Linked DNA regions of Homo sapiens: region 2 is linked to region 1. Evidence: promoter capture Hi-C in 16 types of primary human blood cells and fetal thymus (Javierre and others, 2016). All regions are on one chromosome and are shown on one strand. Each heading gives the region's core, a stretch centred on a gene start or on the middle of the fragment in contact. The rest is flanking DNA. Distances are from core to core; before and after follow the strand shown.

The links. The method cuts DNA at HindIII sites, captures the fragments that hold promoters and counts their contacts. A CHiCAGO score of 5 or more calls a contact.
Region 2: a fragment that was not itself captured here is called in contact with the fragment with the promoter of MAP10 in region 1 in 2 of 17 cell types (fetal thymus and non-activated CD4 T cells); the score reaches 8.1 in fetal thymus.

The regions. Positions count from the first base shown.
Region 1 is chr1:232,802,659-232,809,374 of GRCh38, reverse strand. MAP10 (microtubule associated protein 10) reads right to left here and starts at 3,959. Exons shown (of 1, transcript NM_019090.3): 1 at 1-3,959. The coding sequence starts at 3,925. The coding sequence ends at 1,208. RefSeq lists enhancers at 2,970-3,566, 3,776-3,855, 3,567-4,164. The HindIII fragment of the contact is 4,755 bases long and covers 768-5,522 here.
Region 2 is chr1:232,922,002-232,928,929 of GRCh38, reverse strand. No RefSeq gene overlaps it. Among named protein-coding and RNA genes, the nearest start is that of NTPCR, 25 kb to the left of the region's middle. RefSeq lists enhancers at 4,531-4,590, 4,157-5,356. The HindIII fragment of the contact is 2,181 bases long and covers 272-2,452 here.

The DNA of each region.
Region 1 (6,716 bases), core at 2,710-5,209:
TATTATGATCATTCAGAATACCTATATAATTAATTACCTTTAAAGAAAGGAAATTAGAACCTCACTTCATACATTCAAAAACGTTAGATATATTAAAAAGTCTAAAAATTAAAGTATAACACAGCTAGAAGAAAATATATGTAAATATTTGAACACAGAATAAAGTCTAAATATAAAACCAATGGAATAAATTATAAATTATCACTGGATTTCATAAAAACAAAGTTCCATACACTAAAAATAACCATTGAACAAACTGAAATGACAAGAAACTGAACTCCTATATCAGAAACTGTATAAAAGATACCTTCTTAAGTTTCCCTTTCCAAATATTTCAGAGAACACCTGAAGGCTATTTATACCAAGCAAAACAGAAATATTACAGTCAAATATATTTCCAATAAGGATTTTCTGCAGGTTTATTTTAGGGAATCTGCTTATTTTTGCTGCTTAATTCTAAACCCTCCCATTAGGTATTTTAAATGCCTGGGCTTCGTTTTTTTCAACAAATGTTTTTATTGCACTGCAGCCACATGCCAGGAATTGTGCTAGATACAAAAATGCACTGATGTGTAAAACAAATATGATCCCATCACACAACTGAAGCCTAGTGGAAGATAAACTTTAATCAAGTAATCACACAAATTGTGGCTTATAAACAAAAGGTGCAGGGCACTATGAGAGCATATAAAAGCAACTTCACCTATTGGGGATATGGGATATGTATATGTCAAGGAAGACTTCTTATCTACATACAACTGTAAGCTTTTAAAACAGCAGGGCTCTATCATAAATAGATTCTGCACCTTTCTGCATCTAACACAGTAAGTCTTCTATATTTGTTAAATAATTTGTTCCAATTAAAATTTGAGGCTGTCCTTACTAACTAGCCTTCTTTTTCAGTGGTGTGCATGAAGTCAGCTTTAGAATGATCAATACTGTAGACTAGACACTTTAAGAGAGACAATTTAGAAAGACACACTTTTATTCTTATGATTAAACAATTTAAAAAGAAATCTGTTTATATGATTTAATAATCAATATTATCAGATTTAATGGTAAAATACCATTTAAACATCAAAGGAATAACGTTAATTCATATTTCTTTAAAAAATTATTCACATAATTCATGAACTAAAACAGCTTTAAAATTTTTTTCACTAACAGTACACATAGGTCCTTGAAAGTTTTTTAAAAGCATGTATTTTTACATTGTGTATCCTGGAAGTTTATTTATTACTAATTCACAAATATCTTTGCATTGCTTGGAAATATTTAGTGAACCAACATCATCATTGCCTTCTTCAAAGTGATCTGATGTACTGCTATCCAGGACATTAAGTTCGGACACATTTGAAGGCAGGTAAGAACTCACCTGGGATGTTTGTGGTGACTGGCTTTTTTCTAAAGATTTCCAACTACTTCTTGTTTTAACAGAGATGTCTTGAGCTCTCTTTGTAATTTCAGAATTGTGCATACTATTTTGATCTATCTGGTTTTCTTTTTGTTCAGTCCAATGTGTTGAAGATAAATCACTAGCAGAGATACTAGATGCTTCCTCCAAACTTTTATCCTGAGTCTTTGAAATATGAAATTTTCTGTATGAGTGTACAGGTGACCCGGCTGAAAAAGGTGGGCTAAGGATAGAACTCCTGTCACTACTATTTTTCTTTTTGGACACTCCTGTGTCACTAGACTTGCTTGTATATTGACTATGTTTTGGATTTTCTGTCCTTGAACTGCTATCATGAGCTTTGAAACTTCTGCTGGTGTCCTCACTGGTACAGAAATCTTCAGAATAGCAAGGGCTAGACAAATCATCTGAATACTTCAGTTCTGAGATGTTTTCATAGCAACTATTTTTACCTGTTCTCTTGTCACTTATATCAGCCATAAGAATGTCATTATCTGTGGTTTTGACCTGTCTAATATCTATTTCCTTATCTACAATTCTGTCAACAACAGCATCCTGTTGGAAAACACATGGACTTTGGATTTTCATTTCCACATTTCCTCCCAGAATATTTGTAGGGGTAAGCCTTTCTGGAATAATGGAATTTGCAGGACTCACAACTTCTTCCAATGAAACATTATTGATTCTATTTTTACTACAATCAACTGTCTTTTTTTCAGTTGCATATTTCAGTTTAGTTTCTTTACTTGTGCTGGGCTCATCAAAAACTCCACTGATTTGTCTTGAGGTATCACTATTTTCAGTGAAAGATGCATCTGAATCTAAATACTTATCTTCAGGCAGTTGTGGCTTCTGACTTTGTTCTGCAGAGCTTAATAGTTTAACTTTGGATGACGGAATTCTGAATTTTGTACCCAACATTTGTGATTGTCTTTTTCTATATAGTTCTCTTTTTTCATGTACCACCAACATATCAGGATTTGTCAGCTTTAAACGTAGTCTTAGTGTATTTGTTAAGCCATAAAGTAGCCTCCCTTTTGGAACTCTTTTATGGAGGGCACCACTGCTCTTTTCAGAATATTTATCTTCCTTATAGTTTTCAATTTGGTTCTTTTTATACTGAAGACTCACTGACTTTTCACATCCCCCCACAGAACGCTTATCCTTCTTGGCTTCAGACCGGCATGTGGATTTGGCAGAAGATTCGGGTGACTTCTTATCCTCAGTCCTATATAACCAGGCTAGGTGAGGATGTATATGAGCAGGACTTGTCACAGGTTGGTCATATAACAAGGACAACTCAACTAACAAAGCATTTAACAAAGGCAACTGCCTTATTGTATTAATTCGATTTTGTTCAGTTTGACATGTTTGATTAGTTGCTCCTATATTCTGAATATGTGGAGGATTTACAAGCATTGGAGGATGTTCGTGTGCTGCAGAACTTGGATGCTTTAGACAACTCCTGTGTGCTGGGGGATTTACACGCTTTTTTTCAGGAGAAGCATCATCCATTTCCTCAGGTGCATTCATTTGAGGCTCAATGGTGATTTTAGCCTGTGCAGGGGGCGGTTTTTCTTGGGTCAAGTTAGTGTAATACAAAGGAGGAGGGCAAAATATATTGGTCTCCATGTCCAATTCTGTGACTTCCTCATTTAGGGAGCTAACATTTCTCCCATTGCCAGCACCTGAACATGTAACAACAGAATTGGTTTTGCCATTCTCCACAGAACCCACATTATCACATTCGGCCTTACTTTTAACCATTTCCTTCAAATCCTTCTGTGCCTCTGGGATTTCTAACTCCCCCAGCGGCTTATCAGCCTCTTTTGGGCTTGGCTGTGAGGCTGGCTGCTGCAGCTGCTGTCTTTCCTGCTGGGTTTGGGGACTGACCTCCGCTCCTCCTCCTGTGCGGGTGAAGGTGAGGGGCCGCTCAAGTTGGCTCAGCAGGCGGCTTCCCAGGTCAGTCAGGCGGTAGGCCAGTGCAATGTCCCCAGTCCGCTCGCCCACTCGATTATGCAGGGGGAAACGTCCCCGGTGACGGTGGGAGCATCCGGAGGCGGCCGGCCCCACGACCCTGTGCGCTGCGGTGGCCAGCGAAATGTCGCAGGCCCCCAGGAGCTGTGGGGTGGGCGTCGGGCGCCCAGGGGGCAGCTGCAGCAGCAAGGTGGCAAGCGGGGTCCGCAGGAGCCGGCAGTGCAGGGTAGCAGGCTGCAGGCGGAAGAGGCAGGACTTGCCGCGACCGAAGCGGATGACACCGGGCCACGGTTCGGCGGCGGGAGCGCCGGGGCCGTCAGGAGGGTAAACCAACAGCGTGGGGAAGTCCAGCAGGCGGAAGGCCACGGCGGGGCACAGACCGCGCGGCGACGAGGCCTCCCCCTGCTCCTTTTCCTCCTCTTCCTCCTCCTGCTCCACTGCGGCAGCGGGGGACGGCAGCAGCCGGGCTTCCAAACGCACCCAGTCCACCAGCAGCTCCAGCGAGAAGAGCCGCTCGGACAGCGAGGCCGCCATTGCTGTTGCCCCAGGAAACGCCGCCGCGGGCTCCGCAAACGAGAAGCTGAAGCCCCGGGGTCTCACGAGAAACCGGAGCAAAAGGCATCGCTGCCTGCTATCTCGCGAGATTTGCGGAAGCGCTCCAGCGGGTCTCGGGCGGTGTCTGCTTTGGGGGTTTTGCTGCTCAATGTGTTTGGCCCCTTTGTATGCATACTTGTGAGCCGTTTTTTGCCACCAACCTTGTATTAAGACAATTGATGATAATGCTGAGGATATAAGTGGTAAAAGACAGTGAGTTTTTTGGGTAATGGTTTTATCACTGCAGATCTTATGTAACTTGGGGGTCAGATCAATATACCTGAGGAATATTGAAAGAAAATCAGGACTCTCCTTCCTTTCCCATGCTAAACAGAGCCAGTTAGTTAACTGTCCACAGTGGGCCATCTCTGTGTCTGCTGTTCTACCCAAAAGATGGTGACACTGCTGGGATGGCCAGGGAGCCCCTGCCTCATCAATTACAGTAGTACTGAGACAGACACACCACACACACACGGAGTGTGAATACACTGGCAAAAACTCTCCTTGGCTGAACTTTGGTCAGGCTCATCTAAGCCTTCTTTCCGACTAGGCCTTGACCTTGGCTTCCAATCCTGTGGACCCTGGATCACCGAGTTGTAGCAAAGGTCTCGCTACGGCTGTTGAGAGAGAACCCCCAACCCTTCATACCTGATTACCGTCGATACCTGATCAAATTCTTCATTTTCTATCATTGGTATCTGACCACCCTGGCCTGGCTTCAGCAAGAATCCTATTAGGCCTGCTTAATCAGAACCCTCCCACCCGTGATGTTCCCTATCAGTAAGTTTCCATCCACTTGACCTGACGCCCCCTTGGCTTTAAATCCCCACTTGTCCATGCTGTAATTGGAATTGAGCCCAGCTCTGTATTGAGGTCTCTTTTCTCTTATTGCAGTAGTTCCTGACTACAGTGTTTTTGCCACTTCAACTACTGTCTGGCCCTGTTTTTTATTTGACAACATTTCCAGCTAAGCAATCATGATGCATGAGAGTAATGTTAATGATTCCATCAATAAAACAAATGTGTGTACATAAATATACACACATCTACAGAGACACACAGAACTTGCTGCTCTATCCAGATATTTTAAGAAACATACTCCTAACCTCAATGAGCTAGCCAGCTAGGAATCCAAGGCCAGTTTTTGGAGAGCCTTGAATGCCATGGTAAAGAATTTGGACTATATTCTGTCCAAATTTTTTTGATTGAATAAGTACATCATAGCAATATTTGGAAATGTATCATGGGGAGGAATACAAAGGATGGATTCTACTAATTAGAAATTGGATTCAGAGCAATCTATTAGAAGACTACTGCAGTGGTCTAAGAGGCAGATAATTATGACCTGCACATGGTCAGGACTAGTGGAAATTAAAAAGAGGTGGCAGAAGAGGCATTTGTGATGGAGGAATTTTAAAATTTGGTGAATGGGAAAGAAAAGTCATGGGTGAAAAACTTCTGCTACTGAAGGTGAAAATATTGAGGAGGCACAGATTTGACGGAAAAAAATACTTTGAGTTTTGAGATATGTAAAGCTTGAGGTACCTGCTGCTGGGCATTATATATGTACCGCTTTATTCAGCTTTATAAATTATAGTTAAATTATATTGCTTCAGTGCTCAGAAGAACATTGTGAAGCTCAAGAGAAATTCAGAACTGGAGGGATATGATGCTTTAGTGTGAAGACGTGAGAGAGAAGTCTCATTGCAATATATAAATACAAGATACTTCTCGGACCAGATGCGGTGGCTCACGCCTGTAATCCCAGCACTTTGGGAGGCCGAGGCAGGCAGAACACGAGGTCAAGAGATCGAGGCCATCCTGGCCAACATGATGAAACCCCGTCTCTACTAAAAATACAAAAATCAGCTGGGTGTGGTGGTGCATGCCTGTAATCCCAGGTACTTGGGAGGCTGAGGCAGGAGAATCGCTTGAACCAGGGAGTTGGAGGTTGCAGTGAGTGAGCCGAGATCGCACCACTGCACTCCAGCCTGGTGACAAAGCGAGACTCCATCTAAAAAAAAAAAAAAAAATTACAAGATACTTCTCTTGGCTTTGAGAATCTTGCTATATACTTGCAGAGGACACATATCAAGCAACATCCTCAATGGATAGATGATGTAGAGCAATAAAAAAAAGACATCATCACAAGTGAAAAGCAATGAGGTATTGAGTCCATGTGCGCCAGAGAAATACAGTAGACAAAATTCCTCTTAGAAGATATCCTGTAGTTAGCCTTTTGAGTAAAGTTAATAGTGTGCACTAGTAGCACTTGTATGTCTCTTACATATGAATAGAAAAAGCGAAGTCCCTCTTCTATAAAGACATTATTTCTGCAATATGTAGTTTCTGCAATGATAATAACTTCTCTACCCAGCTACTCTACATGACTGGTATTATAATGTATGAATAATATTTTATACTTGTAAATAATGCCAAAAGTAACAAATAAAATTTTGCCATGACAAATATTTTCCCCATGTTTCTACACCACACATGGAGAAGTAGCACAGTGCAGTAGCTGAGCGCCTGGGTTCTGGAAGCAAACTACCTGGCTCAAATCCTGGTTCTGTGACCTTATACTAGTTTCTGAACTCTCTGTGAATCATTATCCTCATTTGAAAAATATAGTTACACTAACTACCTCATAAAAATATTATGTGTGTTAAGTGAATTAATACTTACAAAACTCTTAGAACAGTGCCTAGCATATAGTAAATATTTGTTAAAA
Region 2 (6,928 bases), core at 113-2,612, 120 kb before region 1:
ATTAAATCACATATAACATGAAATTACAAATGCAATAAAATTTACAATAATTTCCGGACACCACACTTTCAGCTTACTCCCTCTTCACATGGGACAGATTCTGTCCATTTTTATTTGGCCACCTGTTTCTGATGATCCACACCAGAAGCCAATGCTCTGCACTTCCACATTAACACCAGTGAATGTTTGGGAGGTGCATGGTGAATGCTGTTGGGATGAAGAAGTGCTGGGTATTGAGGGACACTTGGTACAGCGTCTTCCTTGTCAAGCTTGATTCCATTTGCCTAACTACACAATTATAGCACTGCTAGATGACAGAAAAGCTGTGTGCTTTTAGAAGACTCCTGTACCACCATGTTTCTCAAACTGTATACCTGTATCTTTAAGGGAACACACAGGAAAGAACAGCTAACAAATCAAGCACTTATCATATGCCAGGTTCTGCTCAATACACTACAACATGTATTAACTCACATGTCCTCATGTGAGGAGGTGGATCCTGTTATTACCTCTTTGTACACTCAAGGGGAAAGACCACTGTCTATCTGCCTCTGGTTTCAAGTGATGCTGGGCTCTCCCTTCTGCATTTCTACATAGCAAAGGGAGCTCTTGGTTTTGACACACTGCCTAGTCTGGCTGTATTACTAGGACTCAGGATAAGAGCTATTTGTAGTGGCACTCTAAAACCTTGACCTTCAATGTCCCGCAGTAAATTCCTGATTAAGTTTCAAGCAAAGAGTTTGGTTTAAAAAAATCATTCAAAGAATTTATGCTGTGCATTAGCTTAGTTCAGCTTGGACGGTACATTAATTTTGCCCTTATCACATTTCCCCTCTCCTGTCACAAACTTTGCTGATTGTTCACCTTCTACTCTTGGTTCCTGTACGAACTCCATGAGCCTTGGCACCTCCATGTATCTCAAGTTTCCTCACCTGTAAAATGAGAAAACCTTTGCTCCTCTGTGAGTCAGCTAACACTTCACTGGGATGCAGTCATTTCTTTAAAATGCTGAGAGAGATTAATGTGCCCAGTGAGTGTTAAATGGCAAGTCACTCTGAGCTTGTTGCAATGCGGCACTTCTAACTCTCTGTTAGTGCCCTGGTCCCCTCATGAGAGCCAAAACTCTTGACATTCTTATACGGCCTTCAGCAACTGACCCCTGCTCTTCTCCATGGCCTCATTTTTGGCTCCATCCTCTGAAACAGCATTTGGGCTTTTACAACAGGACCACCATGCCTCCAGGTGTTTCCTATGCAAGCCTGGGTAGTCGGAATGCCCTCTGCTCCGTCCAACTTTGCCTGACCACCTCCTGCTCTGCTCACTCAGGTTCAGCTTTGACATCACCTCCTGGGATACTGATATGGTTTGGCTGTGTCCCCACCCAAATCTCATCTTGAATTCCCATGTGTTGAGGGAGGGACCTAGTGGGAGGTAATTGAATCATGAGGGCAAGTCTTTCCCCTGCTGTTCTCATGAGAGTAAATAAGTCTCATGAGATCCGATGGTTTTAAAAAGAGGAGTTCCCCTGCACACGCTCTCTCTCTCTGCCTGCTGCCATCCATGTAAGGCGTGACTTGCTCCTCCTTGCCTTCCACCACGATTGTGAGGCTTCCCTAGCCACGTGGAACTGTTAAGTCCAATTAAACCACTTTCTTTTGTAAATTGCCCTGTCTCTGGTATGTCTTTATCAGCAGCATGAAAACAGACTAATACGGATACCTTCTTTACACCCCAAGTCAGGAACCAGAGCCCCCTGCTGTGTCCTCCCTTTATCACTGCACATCACAGACAGTATCATCATAACCTCTTTGCTTACCTCTATCCCTTCACTTCACTATGTTCCAATGTTTTTATTATGGAATCTACTGTGCCTAGTACAGTGCTTGACACATAGCTAGTGCTCAATAAAAAAAAATAATAAATGAGTGAATGGAAGTTTGGGAAAGGGTAGATTCTTGCTGGTTCTTCCAAGACAGAAAAAGGCAAGAGCTCCACAAATGTCCATTTTTGTGAACCTGGATAATTATTTGGAAGGGAAAGAGGAGGATCAGGCCTGGAGCCAAGAGAACCTGAATCATAACCTTGATGGGATTTAAACCTGAGAATCATGTGGATTTTTTTCTGAGTGACAAGGGAGAGTGAGTGGAGATCCATTGTCTAGGTGTTGCTGTGGGTGGCAAATTATTAGTTAGAAAATCCATGCAGTCACGTATGTGAATGTGAAAAATTGTGAGCCTTGCTGCCACCTAAGAATAAGACCATCCCATCATTAATCATGTGCTTTCATTTGCACTGGATCCCATCACAAAGGAATTAATGTCTGTGGCAGTCAGGTGGCTCTTAACTCCTTACGAAGAGTAATAAGGCTTTACTTTTTCATAAACATGGATGTGACACAGAAACTAATACCATCCAGTAAAGTCCAAACCAACTGCTTCCCACTAGAGAAGCTTCTCCTCTCCAGGAAAGCTTTACCCGGCCAGACCAGACTCTTTCTCCCTGGACCCATGGCAAATACAGACTGTTCATTTAGTGAATCACTCTCCCTCTTCTGTTCTCTTCTTGAAATATTTTTTCAACCTTCACGCTTTAATTTCTAACATGTTTATGTTCTGTCTAGCTCCTAGGTGGTAAGAGAGTGGATTTAAAATTGTAATCCCCCCAGGAGAGCAAACATTGCCCAGTCTTTTGCTTCTTGACCAAGGGAGGTGCTTGATAAAATATTTATTGATCTCACCATTGATTCCTCTCTCAGTCTCAGCACACATGGGTCACAATGGACAGTCATTTTTCATCTCACATTTGGCTTTCTAATAGTCCTTTCTTAAAGTGATTCCATTTGCTCATGTGAAGTGCAGAGACCTGGTCAGGCATGAAGAATACAGCTTTTCCTACTGCCTTTCCAGGCTCTGGCCATGGGCCCTGCCTGAGTGGCCCTCTGTCATCATGCTCTGCCAGCTCACTTCAAAGCAGTCTGGCCTTTTAAACAAAAGGCACAATAGGGCTAACAGAACAACCCTGCAATGTAGTTGAACATAAATGCATACGAAAATGAGACACAGCTTCTCTCACTCACCATGGCATAGTGCTTTGGGGCCTCTGGTGAACTTGAAGAAAACCCCAAGCCCCTTTCTTAGAGCTTTGATGTGCCACTGTAACAAATGCACAGCAGGACATTGCACCCTAGTTCGCATTTAAGCCTTCCTGTTTAATTTGAGCAAAACTCTCCTTACAGGAGAATTAAACAATAACCACATCACAGGGAGATCTTAAAGTATTAGCAAACATCTGCTGCAAGCGTCGTGACAAGCACATGGCCCTAATGGCCCGCAGCCCCCCTGAAGAAGAGCAGATGTCTGTATAAAGGATGAATTTTGTTTATAAGGTGTTTTTGGTATGAACTTTTTCTTTGGCTCTTGTTAAATGGAGAACTTAGCAACCTATTGAAAAGGCATTTTGTCTCCACCCTGTAGAGCCAAATTGCTTCCTTGCTCTTCTGACTTCCTGACTGCTGAAGGAAGTCTTGGTCTATCTCAGGCAGTTAGTAAAGCATTGTCAGAATGGCCAATGGTGCATTAACCAGACCTGTTATTCCTAGTGGTCAGTGCAGTCTTTAAACACAAAGCTGGGTGTTCAGAGACCTGAACGCTAGTCCTCCATTGCCATGGTTAGCTGTGTGGTCCCAGGTAAGTCACTACCCTGACTGCATGGGATTTTGCATCTGTAGAATCAGCAGTGGTCTCTTCCAGATGTATCATCTGGCACTTCTCTCTCATGCATTTCTCTGGGCTAGTAAATTCTTAGCAAATTTCAACCTCGCTGACACCCCAGTGAGATGGCCTCTATTCATTGGGTGGTAATGGAGGGCTCTAAGAATTATCTGGGGAATACTGTCAATGCATTATAAATCACCAGAGAGGCTGCATCAGGCTCGAAAGTGGATCTCTGCTAGCTCTGAAAAGTCCATTTTTATTTTCTGGCTTAGAGACATTCACAAGATATTTTTCAAATATACATTTCCCTTGAGCGGTGTGGTCTCTGGGATGTTCAGGTACAACAGAATCAGATGTCACAGAAATGTTAGGTCATTCCAATTCGCTGCAGTTCATCTTTGCAATTGTTAGAGGGCATGGCCCAGAAATACAGAAATGAATGAAGCGAAGAATTTTCAGTCTCATCCTGTCTATCTTTGCTCATGCAGACGCAGTCAGGCGGATGACTCTGTGACCTCTCACCCTGGATACTCTTGATATCCACATCAGTGGGGTAAAGGCATCTTCAAATTCTATTGTCTTGAACCAAGGATGAAAATGTTTCAAATCTTCACCCCTTCCTGATTCCCGAGGGGTCTTTTAATGGCCTAAGCAATGCCGTTAAACAAATAGTCCCCATCAACACGGAAGATGGTGATTTGTGGTCATTTTTCAGTTCGTTACAACAAATGCCAAGGCCCACTCCTTGCATTGACAGACACCCAGGAAGAGTCTTCAGGGCCTATAGATGAGATCAAGGTGAAAATTACTTTGAGATCAAAGTCTTCTCTGCTGCAGTGCACTGGAGGGCTTCTGAGTCCAGCCAGGCAGTGAAGGAAGACTTCCCCACCCAGCACCTGGCTCCTCCTGCCTTTCTGAACAGGGTTTTGATTTGTTGAACAGCTTAGGAAGTAAGTGTGGCTTTGCTTAAGACCGCCAGCTTCCATAGACTGAAACGGTAGATGTAACTTACCCCAAAAGACAAAGAAAAAGAAAGCAAGATAGCACACCCTTGGGTTGGTTTCTGGCAAGCTCTAACCACATCAATGCATAAAACTGTATCTGTGCCTGACTGAGCAAAGTGACAACAGTGTCACAGAATCTGATCTTGAGATTAGCAGCTGCCCCTCTTTTGGAAGAGCTGTCCTTCACCTTTACTGCAAGTTCATGATAAAGTGCCATCTTCCCTCCCTTTACAGCCACAGCAGGGATGTGAGCTACCAACTCAGCTGCACCTAGTATCCCTTGGATTGAGAGGAGCGCTGACATGTCCTTACTCACCCTTGCTCCAGGCCCACAGCCCACTTTCAGAGGATGATTAAAGCAGAGTGAGAATGAGTCAGGTTCTCTCCAGAAACCAAGGGTCTGAAGTAGCAATTGACTGAATGGGACCGGAAGAGTGATCTGGAAGAGTTAATGAGTATTCAACATTGCTGGGCTCTACTTCCTGGTTCAGCCTTCCAGGAGGGGAGAATGAATCTGACCCAAGATTTGTCGAGTTCTTAAACATGGCATTATTCGAAATAAAATTTCCCCCTTCATCCTCTTATTGCCAAGGAAGACACTGATTTTTCAAGAAAGAAAAGCTAATATGCTTGCATAGAGTGCAAATAGAATGTGTGACCAATCATTGGACTGACAGAATTTGCCATCATTGTGACAAAAGATTAATTCATTTGGTCAATTAGGCCTGTAACAAATCAAGACAAGAAATTTTTGAAAATCAAACTTTTCACTTTACTGAGTGATATGGTTTGGCTGTGTCCCAACCCAAATCTCAACTGGAATTGTATCTCCCAGAATTCCCATGTGTTGTGAAGGGGGACCCGGGGGAGATAATTGAATCTTGGGGGCCAGTCTTTCCCATGCTATTCTCATGATAGTGAATAAGTTTCACAAGATCTGATGGGTTTATTAGGGCTTTCTGCTTTTGCTTCTTCCTCATTTTCTCTTGCCACCACTATGTAAGAAGTGCCTTTCACCTCCCACCATGATTCTGAGGCCTCCCCAACCATGTGGAACTATAAGTCCAATTAAACTTCCTTTTCTTCCCAGTCTTGGTATGTCTTTATCAGCAGCATGAAAATTGACTAATACACTGTCATCAGGCACATTTATTCAAAATAATCAAATTACTATTCCTGAATAGACACATATAAGATTCCTTTGAGAATTAGCAAACTCATACCTCAATATTGCCAGTAAAATTCTAAATTCGTGAAGTAAAGGTCCATATTTTTTGCTGCATTTTTAACCGTCACATACCACAGTGTGAGAAGATGTGTGGTACATTATCTTAAAATGCTTCTTACTTCCTGAAAAATTAAGTCAGTAATCTAAAGATTTTACCACAATATTTTACACACAGAAAGAAACCCTAAAACTGTGTCTGGATTTTATTGCAAGAAAAGTAGGCCAGATGTGGTAGCTCATGCCTGTAATTGCAGCACTTTGGGAGGCTGACTAAGCCAGGAGGATTGCTTGCGACCAGAAGTTTGTGACTAGCTTAGGCAGCATAATGAGACCCTGTCTCGACAAAAATTTCTTTTGAAAAATTAACAAGCCATGGTAGTGCACACATAGGTACTCCCAGCTACTCAGGGGGCTGAAGCAGGAGGTTGAGGCTCCAGTGAAATATGTTGGTGCCACTGCACTCTAGCCTGTGTGACAGAGCAAGACCCTGTCTCTATAAAAAGAGAGAGAGGTAAGTGGCAAATAATTTTCGATTTTTACCACACCACCCCTCTTTTCCTTCAACTCTGTGAATACATAATGATTCTCCCTTGCTAGTTTCTTATGCCTTTGAAAAACAGTATTATTTTATAACGTAATCGAAACTGCCATGGACTGAATTTTATCCCCCCAAAATATTGAAACCTTCACCCTAATGTGACTGTAGTTTGAGATAGGGCCTTTAGGAGGTAATTAAAGTTAAATGAGGTCATAAGGGTAGGTCCCTAATCACACAAGGTTGGTGGCCTTATAAGAGGAAGAGAAAGAGCTCTCTCTCCAAGTACACTCAAAGAAAAGACCGTCTAAGGACACCATGAGAAGGTGGCAATCTAGAAGCCAGGAAGAGAGCCCTCACCAGAAACCAAACAGTGCTGGATTTTGATCATAGATTTTCAGCCCGCAGAACTATGCAAAATAAATGTCTGTTGTTTAAGCCACTCAAT